2 separate regions of the Homo sapiens genome follow, and region 1 is linked to region 2. The links are contacts of gene promoters, found by promoter capture Hi-C in blood cells and fetal thymus (Javierre and others, 2016). All regions are on one chromosome and are shown on one strand. The core of a region is centred on a gene start or on the middle of the fragment in contact, and the rest is flanking DNA. Distances in the headings are between cores, read along the strand shown.

Evidence for each region. Contacts are between HindIII fragments. The CHiCAGO score rates a contact against its expected background, and 5 or more counts as called.
Region 1: the fragment with the promoter of UTP6 here is called in contact with a fragment that was not itself captured in region 2 in 2 of 17 cell types (neutrophils and naive B cells); the score reaches 9.8 in neutrophils.

The regions. Positions count from the first base shown.
Region 1 is chr17:31,896,789-31,903,762 of GRCh38, forward strand. It overlaps UTP6 (UTP6 small subunit processome component), which reads right to left and starts at 4,920. Exons shown (of 19, transcript NM_018428.3): 1 at 4,748-4,920; 2 at 2,858-2,942. The coding sequence starts at 4,839. RefSeq lists enhancers at 4,395-4,544, 4,588-5,179, 4,865-4,914. The HindIII fragment of the contact is 12,725 bases long and covers 1-6,974 here.
Region 2 is chr17:31,479,133-31,486,950 of GRCh38, forward strand. The region is part of intron 3 of RAB11FIP4 (RAB11 family interacting protein 4); the gene reads left to right. Among named protein-coding and RNA genes, the nearest start is that of MIR4724, 52 kb to the right of the region's middle. The HindIII fragment of the contact is 1,602 bases long and covers 697-2,298 here.

The sequences.
Region 1 (6,974 bases), core at 3,670-6,169, 420 kb after region 2:
ACCATGCCCAGCTAATTTTTGTATTTTTTGTAGAGATGGGGTTTGCCATGTTGCCTAGGCTGGTCTTGAACTCCTGGGCTCAAGCGATCTGCCTGTCTCACACGTGAGCCGCCACGCCCCTCCAGAAATTTGTATTTTGAACACAATCAAATAAATCAGTCTTTTCTCTCATGGTTTGTGCTTTCACAGTCTAATTTAGCTTTAAGAAATCTTTTGGCTGGGCACACTGGCTCAAGTCTGTAATTCCCAAAACTCTGGTACGGCAAGGCAGGAGGATCACTTGAGCCCAGGAGTTCAAGACCAGCCTGGGCAACATAAGGAGACCCTATCTCTACAAAAAATAAGAAAATTAGCCAGCCATCTGGCACAAGCCTGTAGTCCTACCTACTTGGGAGGCTGAGGCAGGAGGATCATCTGAGCCTAGAAGTTCGAGGCTGCAATGAGTGCTCGCACCATTGCACTCCAGCCTGGGCAAGAGTGAGTGTATTATTTGGAAAAAAAAAAATCTATTTTTGACATAATATGGTCTTGGCTCATTTTGAGTGAGCAATCTACTCATAGGACCTCTTCCAAAAACAATAGCTTAGCCAAGGTTCATATATTGTTTGTTCGGCTGTCTTTTGTCTTTTTAAATCTAAGCTCAAAACTTCTAGTCTTTTTTTTTTTTTTTTTTTTTGAGATGGAGTTTCGCTCTTGTCTCCCAGGCTGGGAGTGCAATGGCACAATCTTGGCTCACTGCAACCTCCACCTCCTGGGTTCAAGCAATTCTCCTGCCTCAGCCCCTGAGTAGCTAGGATTACAGGCACCCAACACCACACCCGGCTAATTTTTGTATTTTTAGTAGAGATGGGGGTTTCACCATGTTGGCCAGGCTGGTCTCGAACTCCTGACCACAGGTGATCTGCCTGCCTCAGCCTCCCAAAGTGCTGGTATTACAGCATGAGCCACCATGCCCAACCAAAACTTCTAGTCTTATAAACATGTGATCTTGTTATTGGTTCTTTCTGAATCCTGATTCCGTCATCCAACATATTAGCTATTCTCCCCCACTGGAAAATTGGTCTGACATAATTTTTCTTTATTCAAACCTTCCATGCATTTACAAGATGAAAAAATCTTGCAGTACACCTCTTTCCAAGTGGACAGACAATAGATAAACAAGCAGTAACTTTTCAATTCTCTACACTCATCACATTCACTCTCCTCTATCTTGCTCACCAAGAGGCAAATCTCTTGCTGAAGTCCTGATACACACTATGTCTCTGACAATCTCTGATCTACAAACCCAGTAGAAAAAAAAAAGAAAGAAAACGACAAGAGAGAAAGAGGAGGGGAAAAGTAAGTTCAGTTTGGCCAGGACTACAGTCTTAGTGGAGTAATGCTACTCCCAATGCTACTCCTGTTCAGAAATATCTATCTAATGAACGTTTCTGGAATTCTTTTAATTTTTTTAAAAAACTGATGTTGGCCGGGCGTGGTGGCTCATGCCTGTAATTCCAGCACTTTGGGAGGCCGAGGCGGGTGGATCACCAGGTCAGGAGTTCAAGACCAGCCTGGTCAAGATGGTGAAACGCTGTCTCTACAAAAATTAGCCTGGCGTGGTTGTGGGCACCTGTAATCCCAGCTACTCAGGAGGCTGAGGCAGATAACTGCTTGAACCCAGGAAGCGGAGGTTGCAGTGAGCCGAGATCGCACCACTGCACTCCAGCCTGGGCAATAAGAGTGAAACTCCATCTCAAAAAAAAAAAAAATTTGATGTTAAGCTCATCATTCTAGAACTGATTTTAAATTTGTGAAGGAATGGGAGGCTGAGGCAGGAGAATCACTTGAACCCAGGAGGCGGAGGTTGCGGTGAGCGTGAGCAGAGACTGTGCAACTGCACTCCAGCCTGGGTGACACAGAGAGACTCTATTTCAATTAATCAACCAATCAATCAATTTGTGAAGGGATTAAAAAGTAAGGCTAGGACCGAGCATGATGCCTCATGCCTGTAATCATAGCACTCGCTTTGGGAGGCCGATGCTGGTGGATTGCTTGAGGCCAGGAGTTCGAGACCAGCCTAGCCAACATGGCAAAACCCAGTCTCTACTAAAAGTAGCTGGGTGCGGTGCCATACGCCTGTAATCCCAGTTACTGAGGAGGATGAGACTTGAGAATCACTAGAACCCGGAAGGCAGTGGTTGCAGTGAGCCAAGATCGCGCCACTGCACTCCAGCCTGGGTGACAGAGCAAGACTCTTGTCTCAAAAACAAAAATAAAAAAAGTAAGGCTGGGCCCGGTGGCTCACAAACACTTGTAATCCCAGCATTTTGGGCGTGGGCAACATGCCGAAACCCTGTCTCTACAAAAAACACAAAAGCTAGCCAGCCATACTGGCACACACCTGTAGTCCCAGCTACTCCAGAGGCTGAGGTGGGAGGATGGCTTCAGCTCAGGAGGTGGAAGCTACACTGAGCCATGATGGCACCACTGCACTTCAGCCTGGGTGAAAGGCGAGCCCCTGCCTCAAAAAAAAGTAATGAAATTATTAATTATTGGCCGGGCACTGTGGTTCACACCTGTAAGCCCAGCACTTTGAGAGGCCAAGGTGGGTGGATCCCTTGAGATCAGCCTGGGCAATGTGGCAAAACCCAGTCTCTACCAAAAAATTAGCCAGGCATGGTGGCATGCATCTATGGTCCCAGCTACCCAGGAGGCTGAGGTAGGAGAATCGCTTGAGCCTGGAGGGCAGAGGTTGCAGTGAGCAGAGATCACACCATTCACACCACTGCACTCCAACCTGGGTGACAGAGTGAGATGCCATCTCACCAAAAAACAAAAAAGAAAAAAAGAAAGAAATTATTAATTACACACTTACTTGAACATAATTGATAAAGTCTTCCTTGAAAAGGGTTCTTCTCTGGATTTTGTACTCTAGATCGGAAGCCTTCTTAATGATAGCCCTGAGGAGAAAGCCATTTAAACTTCACTTGAAAACTGCAAAAATTAAACGTTTAAGTTTATTTTGAATATATTTAAAACATGTTTTTCAAAATACGAAATTCCTAGAGTTATCTTTCATAAGAAAGTATTATCGGCCGGACACAGTGGCTCATGCCTGGAATCCCAGCACTTTGGGAGGCTGAGGCGGGTAGATCAAGAGGTCAAGAGACTGAGACCACCCTGGTCAACATGGTAAAACTGCATCTCTACTAAAAATACAAAAATTAGCTGGGCGTGGTGGTGCGTGCCTGTAGTCCCAGCTACTCGGGAGACTGAGGCAGGAAAATTGCTTGAACCTGGAAGGCGGAGGTTGCAGTAAGCCGAGATCGCGCCACTGCCCTCTGGCCTGGCGACAGAGCAAGACTCCATCTCAAAAAAAAAAAGTATTCTCTTACACAATTACTTTTGTGTTCTTAAGGGTTCATTTTTAAACTTTCAGGAAAATCATCTTAATCAACTCCCAAAACCAATGACATTCCCACCAGCAAAGCAAATACAATTAAGAACTTTATACCATTTATGTATGGTGTTTTTTTTGTTTGTTTTTTTCTCGCTCTGTCGCCCAGGCTGGAGTGCAGTGGCATGATCTTGGCTCACTACAACCTCGGCCTCCCGAGTTCAAGCGATTCTCCTGCCTCAGACTCCCGAGTAGCTGGGACTACAGGCGCTCACCACCACGCTCAGCTAATTTTTGTATTTTTAGTAGAGACGGGGTTTCACCATATTGGCCAGGCTGGTCTCGAACTCCTGACCTCGTGATCCACCCACCTCGGCCTCCCAAAGTGCTGGGATTACAGGCGTGAGCCACAGCGCCTGGCTGGTATTAATAAAGACTTCTTTTACTCCAAGTTCAGGTCACTTAAATTTTAATAATAAATTTCTTTCCGAAATTCCTCTTATTTCTGAGTTCTCAACATGTAAATTTTTTTAAAAATCTAAATTGCGTCTGCCTTAAAAGACTTATTACTACGAAGGACTTACGGGAGAAGATTCAGAGTCCTTAGCTAAGGAATGAACATATGACAAATATATATTAGGAGAATTTAATGCAAGATGTGCAAGACAGGTGTCTTTAGTAATGGTAACATTAACCTTAACTGAGCACTTTCTAAGCGTCCACACTGCTTTGTTTTGTGTTTCATTAACGAATGCTTACTTTGAAGCTCTGAGTCACATTACTACATTCAGACGTTGCAAAACAAAGCAACAGTCACAGAAACCATTAAAAACTATTAAACATAATTTTAACACGCTACTGAATGTCTACCATGTGCCAGGCGCTGTAGTTAGGCTCTGGAGTAGCATATGAAACTGATTTCAATGGTCCCCACCTTCAAGTCTAGTTAGGAATTTATCCACTCCCCCTGGGCTCTCACAGCACTCTGTTCCCATCCCTACAGCAGTACAAGGTACTACAATCAACTTACAGTACACTGTTATCAAAATATTTAATTTGTCTGTCTCCCCCACCACACTCTGCCCAATTAGCTCCTAATGAGCAGGAATCCTGGGTTTATCACCTTTACAGCCCTAAGACCCGGCTCCATGAAGGGCTGTCAAAACGTCTGATGGGTAAGTAGACGGACGGATTACCTTGCAACGAATGAAAAATTAATTCTGGACATCACCGAAAACGAGAAATGGGCTTCCACCACGTTAGGAAAAGTAAACACAGGTCGAGCGTCCCCACATCTAGCCCCTGCCACACACTCCCAACCTCCCCTCAGGCCGCCTCAGCTCTTCCCTCTCCCCAACCCTCTCTCACTTAATCTCCGCATGACTGAACAGTCCAATGCGCTCCAGCTGTTCCAATTCCGGGAGCCGATCTTCTATGCGTTCCTGAATTATCTCTGCCATGAGGTCCGAGGTCTACAACCCCGCGGGTAGCTTCTCAACAGCGAACACGAGCAGGAAGCTCCCGGTTTCAGGTTCGGAGACCCAGCCCTACCACCGACGCGTCCGGACGTAACGTGCTCCCTAGGTCCCGCCTTTTCCGCTTCCGCCACCTCCTACTTAGGGGAAGGCCCTTCGGCTTCTACAGCCACCGTCCCCTCCCTGTGGCCGATTGTGGGATTGCAGCGAGAACCCGCCCTGGTCTTGGGCAGGACGACTCTAGCGGACAGGAGTTGAGGGGCGGGGCTAGACGGGAGGGAGGGGTTAAGTGCGCGCGCCGCTAGACTTGGACAGCCATCAGGAAAAGCGCCTCCAGGTGTAGAGAGGTGGGCTGCTCAAGCCTGAAAGGGACACGAGATGCATTTTCTTCAGAATATTGTCTCCCATCCCACGTCCTGACTTCCCAACACCAAGAACAACAACAAAAAAAAAAGCAAAGGAGGAGGATATTGTACAATTAAACATTTTTGAAAGCCGGTCGCGGTGGCTCATGCCTGTAATCCCAGCAGTTTAGGAGGCCGAGGCGGGCAGATCACCTGAAGTCAGGAGTTCGAGACCATCCTGGCTAACATGATGAAACCCCGTTTCTACTAAAAATGCAAAAAAATTAACTGGGCGTGCTGGCACGCGCCTGTAATCCCAGCTACTCGGGAGGCTGAGGCAGGAGAATCGCTTGAACCTGGGAGGCCGAGATCGCGCCATTGCACTCCAGCTTGGGCAACAAGAGTGAAACTCCGTCTCTAAATAAATAAATAAATAAAATAGAATTGTTTATTATTTAAATCAATATCCTGTCTTTGTAAGCAATAGCTTTCAAAATATATGTCCCTAGGTGAATATCAGACACTATAAATTCTTTTTAGAAAAGGAGATTTTTGTATTGAAAAGTTTGAGAATTACCAAAATAAATCACTAAGGTATAGACACCCTCCTTAAACCATTGCCCAAGCAACTTAGCATTTCTAAGAGAAACACCAGGCAACACAGCTTGGAGGCAATATTGCTGGTATAGTTAGTAAACCTCAAATGATAACTACATGGTTCAGTTCTTTTTTAGTTCTGGATATAAAAAAGCCAAAGCAGCAGTTCTTGCTAAATCTGCTTATTTCAACATTCACATTAGCACCTGGATCCTGTGTGTGATTTATGAAAGGAGAATGGGCTCAGCAAAACCATGTTCCACCTCTGTGCCTTGCATTTCTTTCTTTCCTTTCACATTTTACCCACTCATCTCAGAACTGAGACGAGGGTTGGCTTGTGCTACACCATTTCTTGAATCCTTCAGCTGTAAGACATGTCAGAAGTGGAAGGAAATCACGAATGTAAGACAAAGATAGAATTTATTTGTAAAAGTAAAATCTCTGGGGCTGTGTTAACAGTAAGAGTGGAGATGACACTAGATAGTAAACTCCATATGGGCAGGGAATTTTTTCCTTTTTGACTGGCTAGATACTCTACAGCTTATAGCAGTGCCTACCATATAATAAGTACTCAGTTAATAAATGCATGACACTAAGAAAAGGTACTTGCTAAATTTCTTTAGGTACAAGGAAGTCAGCAAGTTATGACAGACTGTAATCATTTCAAAGTAAATTTGATAGAGACCTTCATAAATTAACCATGATTTTTATTTTATTTTATTTTATTTATTTATTTAGAGACAGAGTCTCGCTCTGTCACCAGGCTGGAGTGCAGTGGCGCGATCTCGGCTCACCACAACCTCGACTCCCCTGGTTCAAAGGATTCTCCTGCCTCAGCCGCCCGAGTAGCTGGGACTACAGGCACGTGCCACCACACCCAATTAATTTTTGTGTTTTTCGTACATACAGGTTTTCATCATGTTGGCCAGGATGGTCTCAATCTCCTGACCTCATGATCCACCCGCCTCAGCATCCCAAAGTGCTGGGACTCCAGGCGTGAGCCAACGCGCCCGCCCAATTTTTAAATCAAACTAACTATAAATACGCTCCTCCTTTATATTGTTTTGTTTTGTTTTGTTGTTCTTTTTAAGACCGAGCCTCGCTGGCCAGGCACTGTGGCTCACACCTGTCATCACAGCACTTTGGGAGGCCGAGGCCACGGATAACCTGAGGTCAGGA
Region 2 (7,818 bases), core at 248-2,747:
GTTGGATTAAATTAAGAAATGAAGTGGCTGGCACATAGTACATAGCTGTTATCAACAATAGGCTGCAGGGAAATGTTCTCTCCTTGGTTTCAGGGCCCTTGTCCAAGGTTCCCATTAGGTAGAGGAATTGTTTCTTCAGAGTTGAGATCTGATGTGTCTGGGAAGAGGGCAGCCTGACTTGAGAAGGTCTCTCACCTTTCAAATGCCCATCTCAGGAACTTCAGAAAAGGCTTCCGCTAATTCAAAAATCAAGTCCTCAGCTTTCCATTGTCTGTGGGTGAGGGATTCTCAGTCCCATTCAGGGCCCTAACCATTCCCCAGGTGATTACTGTGTGCCAGACATGTTAGGAGCTTAAGTCCAAAGACACCAGGGGCATGGACCCTGTCCTCAGGAATTGCAGAATGGTAGGGGACCTGACAGGAGGCCAATCCTGACAATTCAGTGTGTTCCTCTTAGTAACACAGCTTGTGATTGAGGCATAGACATCATGAAGCCAAGGAATAATTTATTATCACTGGAGAAGACAGGGAAGGCATCACCTGGGAAATCATACCTGGGTGGAGTTTTGAAGGATGAATAGGAGTTTGCCTGGTGGACAGAGGAGGCCAAAAGTTTGGTACTAAAAACAGCATACCTACTCTACTCCCAACCACCTCCCTTTTCTAGGATTGGTGTGGGTCCATCTGCCGTTAGCAAGCTTTGTGACTATAGGTAAGTCATTTCTTCTCTCTCGGCCTGTTTCCCATTGGTGAAATGGGATCCCTTCCAGCTTTAATGCATTGTGATTTCATGTTTATATAGGCCTAGATAATTGTTTTAAAGTCCTCATATTTGCAAAACACGGGGCAAAAGTCTTTGACTTTTTCTCTTCTAACGCATCTCCCAGTCTTACAAAGTTGGTTGTACTCTCTCCATTTGACTGAGGAGGAAACTGAGGCTCGGTGAAGTTACTTGCCTTTAGCCAATATGTGGCAGATCCAGGCCTCAAATCCAGGTCTTCTGGCCCTGAGTTCCACTGTTTCTCCACTGCTCCACACGGCCTCTCACCCCACAAGCCCTCGGCGGCTGCACATAAATGATCCTTGACAGATTACTGCCTCACTCAGGCCCCTGTCAGATGTTACTGCTGACAGTTGGGGAGGAGGAGGAGCGAGAACATTGTGTGCCAGGATGCCAGGCCTCGGCCCTGAAGGAGGAGCTTATGAGAAAGAGGCAAGCAGGGAGGCAGCAGGTAGGACATTGAGCATGGTCAAGAAAGGCTGTTTTGGCCAGAGAGTGGATAAATGATAAAGTCTGGAGTAGCAGGCAAGTGCACAGCCACCCTTTCCTGAAGCAAAAATTGGTGCCTAAATCCATAGTGAAAATAGTCCCCCTGGCCGGGTGCGGTGGCTCACGCCTGTAATCCCACCACTTTGAGGCCGAGGTGGGTGGATCGCTTTAGGTCAGGAGATCGAGACCACCCTGGCCAACATGGTGAAACCCTCTCTCTACTAAAAATAAAAAAATTAGCTGGGTGTGGTGGCACGTGCCTGTGATCCCAGCTACTCGGGAGGCTGAGGCACGAGTATCGCTTGAACCCAGGAGGCAGAGGTTGCAGTGAGCCGAGATCACGCCACTGCACTCCAGCCTGGCGACAGAGCCAGACTCCAGACTCCGTCTCAAAAAAAAAAAAAAAAAAAAAAAGAAAGAAAATAGTCTCCCTGCCTCCAGGGTCTCTCTATGCCCATACCCTGCTTTGTTTTTCTTCAGAGCACATATTATATATGTCACTCATTAATTTATTGTTTCATCATCTGACTTCTCCCACTAAAATGTCAGCTCCACAAGAATCAACCAAGACTTGGTACTGATCAAGGCTGTGTCTACAACACCTAGAACAGAGCCTGGCACTAACTGTTTTGAACAAATGAAGGAATTAATGAAGGAATGACTGAAAGAATGAAGGAATGAATGAAAGAATGAAGGAATGAATTAAAGAATGAATGAAGGAATCAAAGAACAAACGATCCCTTCACCTGTGATCATGTCAGCACCCACTGTTGTCAGCAAGCCTTTAGCAAAGCAGTTCCCAAACTGCTGCATCAGAATCACTGGGATCTTTAAAAACTGCCAACACCTGGCTTCCACCGTGACATTCGGATTAGGTTGCCATGGGGTATGTTATTGACATTTTTTTAGGTTCAAGTGATTCCAAGCGTTTTTTAAGTTCTTCAAGTGATCCTGATGTGCGGTGCAGTTTAGGAACCACTGCTTTAAAGGGTTGTCCACTCCTGAAAAAGGGCAGTCCACTCCTACAAAGCTTCTAGCTGAGTTAATAGCCAATCAGAGACATGGGTAGTGGCACGCAGGGTGGGACCTCTGTGCTGCCCAAGTCTGGGAGGAGGTGGGGAGGGTGAGGTGTTTGGGGAAAGGAGAGTTGTTTTTGCTGCCTGGGTTTTGCTGTCTGGGTAACTCTGATGTTACCAAGAGTAGAGGAAAACGAAGTTTTTCTCCTTGCTCTCACCCAATTCAAGTCAAAAGAACACCTTGCTGGACTTCCTCCTCCCCTGCCACCTCCTCTTCTTGGATGACTGAATGAGTCAGGGGGCTTGTTTGTTAGGGAGGAAACACTGGTTTTCTCACCATTTTCCCCCTTTCGTTGAGCTTGAATGAGTAAGAAAACCCATTGTTTATACATGCACAGGTTGACACAAATAGAGCTTGGAGCTTCTGAAGACTCAACCTGGGCTCCAGAGTCAATAAGACCAGGTCCCACCCCGTCTGCACAGCATCCAGCCAGATGTTACAAGAGAACCCAGCCCCGGGGGCAGGCTGGTGAAATCATCCCGGCCAGTGGACAGTCACCAACACCGGAGTGTTTGCCAAGGGAAACACCTTGTTTCCACAGTCCAAGATCCTCTCCTGGGCTGGCACAGAGTTGCAGAATTGGAAGAGACCTAAAGATGTGCTGTCCAGCTAAAAGCTCTTCCAGGGGAGGAGTCTGAGGCCCAAAAAGTTAGGGAGAGCCCAGAACCCAGGCCTCCTGCATCTTCACTGGGTTTGGTGGGAAGAGGCAGAGGAAGGAGTGGTCAGAGAAGATGCCAGCTTAGTGCAGACCCCTAGACACATCCCCACTGGCGAGAGAGGGCTTTTGGATCCAAGAGTCATTCCCATTTTTTTTCTAAATAAAAAATTGGGGGCCAGGTGCGGTGGCTCACGCCTGTAATCCCAGCACTTTGGGAGGCCGAGGCAGGCAGATCACTTGAGGCCAGTTCAAGACTAGCCTGGCCAACATAGCAAAACCCCATCTCTACTAAAAATACAAAAAGTTAGCTAAGTGTGGTGGCATATGCCTGTAATCTCAGTTACTCAGGAGGCGGAGGCACAAGAATCACCTGAACCCAGGAGACAGAGGTTGCAGTGAGCAAAGATCGCACCACTGCACTCCAGCTTGGGCGACAGAGGGAGACTCTAAAAGAAAAAAAAAGAAAAAAAAAAGAAAAGAAAAAAAATTAGGAATGACTTTCCTTTGGGGTCAAGAGGCCTCTGCAGTCTCAGAGTCCTGCCTATTTGCTTGGTAGTCCCTTCCCTAAGCCACTGCTTAAGTCATCAAATACTGAATTTACCACCTGGGATGAAAGCTGAGATTTAAGAGTTGTAGCTGAACTTCCTGAGCGTGGAGTCAATGGACCTCTGAGAGAGAGGTGAGAGAGGACAAGTACTTGTGGTAAAGTCCTAGCCAGCTGCCAGGGGGGCTTTTCCACACATAGAGCCCCAGCTGGGCAGAAATAATGTCCTCTGGCCGGGGGCAGTGGCTCACACCCATAATCCCAGCACTTTGGGAGGCCGAGGCGGGCGGATCACGGGATCAGGAGTTCGAGGCTATCCTGACCAACATGGTGAAACCCCGTCTCTACTAAAAATACAAAAATTAGCCAGGCGTGGTGTCATGCGCCTATAGTCCCAGCTACTCAGGAGGCTGAGGCAGGAGAATCGCTTGAACCCTGGAGGCGGAGTTTGCAGTGAGCCGAGATCATGCCATTGCATTCCAGCCCGGGTGACAGAGTGAGACTGCATCTCAAAAAAAAAAAAAAAAAAAAAAAAAAAAGTAAAGAAAGAATGTCCTCTGTGTGTGCGTTGACAGAATCAAGCCCTGCTAAGATGGACCAGGTTTGACTGATGCTCACAGTCCTGATTAATGACTGGTGTCCACCTTGGAGAGCACTAGACTGAGAGTAATGCAACCTGGCTCTACTCCTGGCTCCACCACTAACTGAGTGTGCTACTTGTGAGGGGAGATGCCATTTCCCACCTCTGGGGCTCATTCCCCTGTCTGGGAAATGGTTATACTATACCAGTGATTTTAAATATTTTTAAAGCCATAGAACCCTTTATTCACATGAAGTTTCATACAGAAGACAGCATGTACAGCAGACAGAAGTGGAGCTATTTTTGTGGTTCCCCTGGAGCACATCTTCCCTTTTGCGAAGTCTCCACAGAACCCTGAGGGTTCCAACAAACTCAGTTTGAGAACAACTTGCCAGACTTTTTGTTTTAGCTCCAATACTATTTATGTCAGCTGTTGTTTGTTCACTTGGCTAATATTGGTTGGCATCAGTTGCTTGGCTAATGTTAACATTAGGTAATGTTCAGAAGGGTTCTTTTCTCAAAATAATGATCATGAAACCATATATATATATATTTAGCCAGTCGTTCCACATGGCCCCAAACATGTGCAGAATGTTGCTTCTTTACACCATCCAATGTTGAGCTAACTCTTGCATGGTGGCAGCGAAAGAAAATAGACACAGAGAGGCCAGGCATGGTGGCTCATGCCTGTAATCCCAGCATTTTGGGAAGCTGAGGTGGGGGGATTGCTTGAGCCCAGGAGTTTGAGGCTACAGTGAGCTATGATTGTGCCACGGCACTTCAGCCTAGGCAACAGAGCAAGATCTTATCTTTTTTTTTTTTTTTTTTTGAGACAGTCTTCCTCTGTCACCTAGGCTGGAGTGCAGTGGCACAATCTTGGCTCACTGCAACCTCCACCTCTCAGGTTCAAGTGATTCTCCTGCCTCAGCCTCCAGAGTGTCTGGGATTACAAGCGCTCGCCACTACACCCAGCTAATTTTTGTATTTTTAGCAGAGACAGGGTTTCGTCACGTTGGCCAGGCTGGTCTCGAATTCCTGACCTCAGGTGATCTGCCCGCCTCGGCCTCCCAAAGTGCTGGGATTACAGGAGTGAGCCACTGCGCCGGGCCTGACATTGTCTCTTTAAAAAAAAAAAGGAACCTCACAGGTAATGCTAAGAGACCAGGGTACCTAACTCAAGACCTTCCTTCCCCACATCCTCATAGGTGGTGCTATGCTCAGAAGGCAGGATTATATTTCCTATTAACTCACTCTTAGCCCCCGTTTGAACCAAGGACACTGAATCCTAGCCTGTGTTAGAGCCCTCAGATCCCATATTCATCCTGTGTCTAATCTCACCCATCAGATACAGTCACCATCCCCACCCCACCCCCCACTGGACTATCATTGCTTCTCTGAACCCTGCTGGAAAGTGTTAGCCCTTCCCTCAAAAGTCAGGGTCCTAAATTTTCCCTCAGGCTGCCTCTAATCCTCACCTCTGTTCCCCTCAGCCTCTTGCCATAATGATCATTAGTAATAGCTACTGTTTATTGGTTACCTGCTCTGTGCCAGGCTCTGTTCTATGTATTTTACTGGTCCTGATTATTTTGATCCTCACAATAGTTCTAAAATACATACTATTATTATCTCCAATTTAAAGATGAGGAAATTGAGACACTGGGACTTAAACTTGCCTACGTTCATTTAGCAACAAGGTGGTAAAGCCAAGATATGGCCCTTGGCCCCGGCACCCATGCACAGAACCAGTGCGTCAGACTGCAGCTCACTCATGCTGCTGGTAGTGACTAGGAACTGCCATTTATTGAGCACCTGCAGCATCTTAGGCATTGCACTAGACACTTTATCATTTCATTGAAACTTCACAACTGCAAGAGGAAATGTCTTATTTCCATTTTCTAGAGGTAGAGACTGAGGCTCCAAAACATTGACTTCCCTTGATAAGTGGAACCGGGCAGGCTTCAAACCCAGGAGTGTTCAATGCATCTGTGGCCTTTCTCTGTCACTCTGCTTTTAAGGACAAGTACCTGCAGACATTCCCCACTCCACTACCTTTGAGAAAAATAAAGAAGGACCTACTGATACCACCCGTTCCATAGAGCTCTTGAGAAATGTCGCTCAGGCTGCCCATGGTGGGGACAGGGAGGGGGCTTGACAGGCCTGACTTTCTCCATTGACCTTCTCTGGGAGAGAGTCACGACCAGAGAAGGGATGATCACCCTTGGTTTCTGCTTTTCTTTCTTGGTTCTGGACGATCCTGTCATGTGACCTGCTTTGAGCCTAATAATCCTTAGGGGCAACATCGGACTTGGAAGGGAAGAAGGGAAACCAAGATAGAACCCCTGGACTCAGCCACATCCTAAAACCTTTTGGGACACTGCTGAGCTTAAGGTCTCAGGGTGGAGATGGGAAGGCAGATAGAGTGGGCCCAGGGTGCATGGGCTCAATCGCATACCACACCTTTGAGGAGTGCCTAAAATTAAGTGTAGTCACTGTGCTAGGGTGTACAACATCCTGTGAGGTACCATTCCCATCTTACAGATGAAGACATTGAGTCTTAGAGAAGTAACAGAACTTGTCCCAAGACATCTGGGAAATAAGACTCAATTCAAACCCAAGTCTGTTTGATTTCAAAGCCAGTGGTATGATACACCACATAGGTACTCTTATTTTTTTTTTAAATAGAGACAGGGTCAGCCAGGCGCAGTGGCTCACGCCTGTAATCCTAGCACTTTGGGAGGCCAAGGCGGGCAGATCATGAGGTTAGGAGTTCAAGACCAGCCTGGCCAATATGGTGAAACCCCGTCTCTACTAAAAATACAAAAATTAGCTGGGCGTGGTGGCACACACCAGTAGTCTCAGCTACTTGGGAGGCTGAGGCAGAAGAATCGCTTGAACCCAGGAGGCGGAGGTTGCAGTGAGCCAAGCTCACGCCACTGCACTCCAGCCTGGGCAACAGAATGAAATATAAATCTCAAAATAAATAAATAAATAAACAAATAGAGACAGGGTCTTGCTGTCAACCAGGCTGGAGTGCAGTGGTGCCATCATGGCTCACTGCAGCCTCAAACTCCTGGGCTCAAGTGATCCTCTTCAGCCTCCCAAGTAGCTGGGACTACAGGTACGTGCCACCACACCTGCCTAATGTTTTTATTTCTAATTTTTTGGTAGGGATGGGGTCTTGCTGTGTTGTCCAATCTGGCCTCAAATACCTTGCTGTGTTGTCCAAGCTGGCCTCAAATACCTAGCCACAAGTAACCCTCCTGCTTTGGCCTCTCATAGGCACTGGGATTACAGGCATGAGCCGCCACATCCAACCAACATGTGTGTTCTATATGATACACCACAGTGCTCCTGTGTGTTAGAGACTGTGGGAGCGGACCCAAACAAGAGAAACAGTCTGGCCTCTGCACATATATCTCTGAACAGCAAGGCATACTTTCCGAGGAGAGGGCTGGGGCAGTGGAGTTTCTCTTGGGGCCACAGCTCTAGCTCCTCTCTTAGGTGGCTCTGGCCAGGAGGCCCTCCTGTACCTAATGCTGTCCCATTTGGAAAGTCCCCAGCAGTTCTGGGAGCTCCAGCGGCTGCTTTGCCTCAGAGACAAGCCCTGGTAAACATAGGGGCCGCTGCGAATTTACTGGCAGGAGAGACTGAGAAGGAAGTTGACAGCCAAGAGGCAGAGAAGTGGGCAA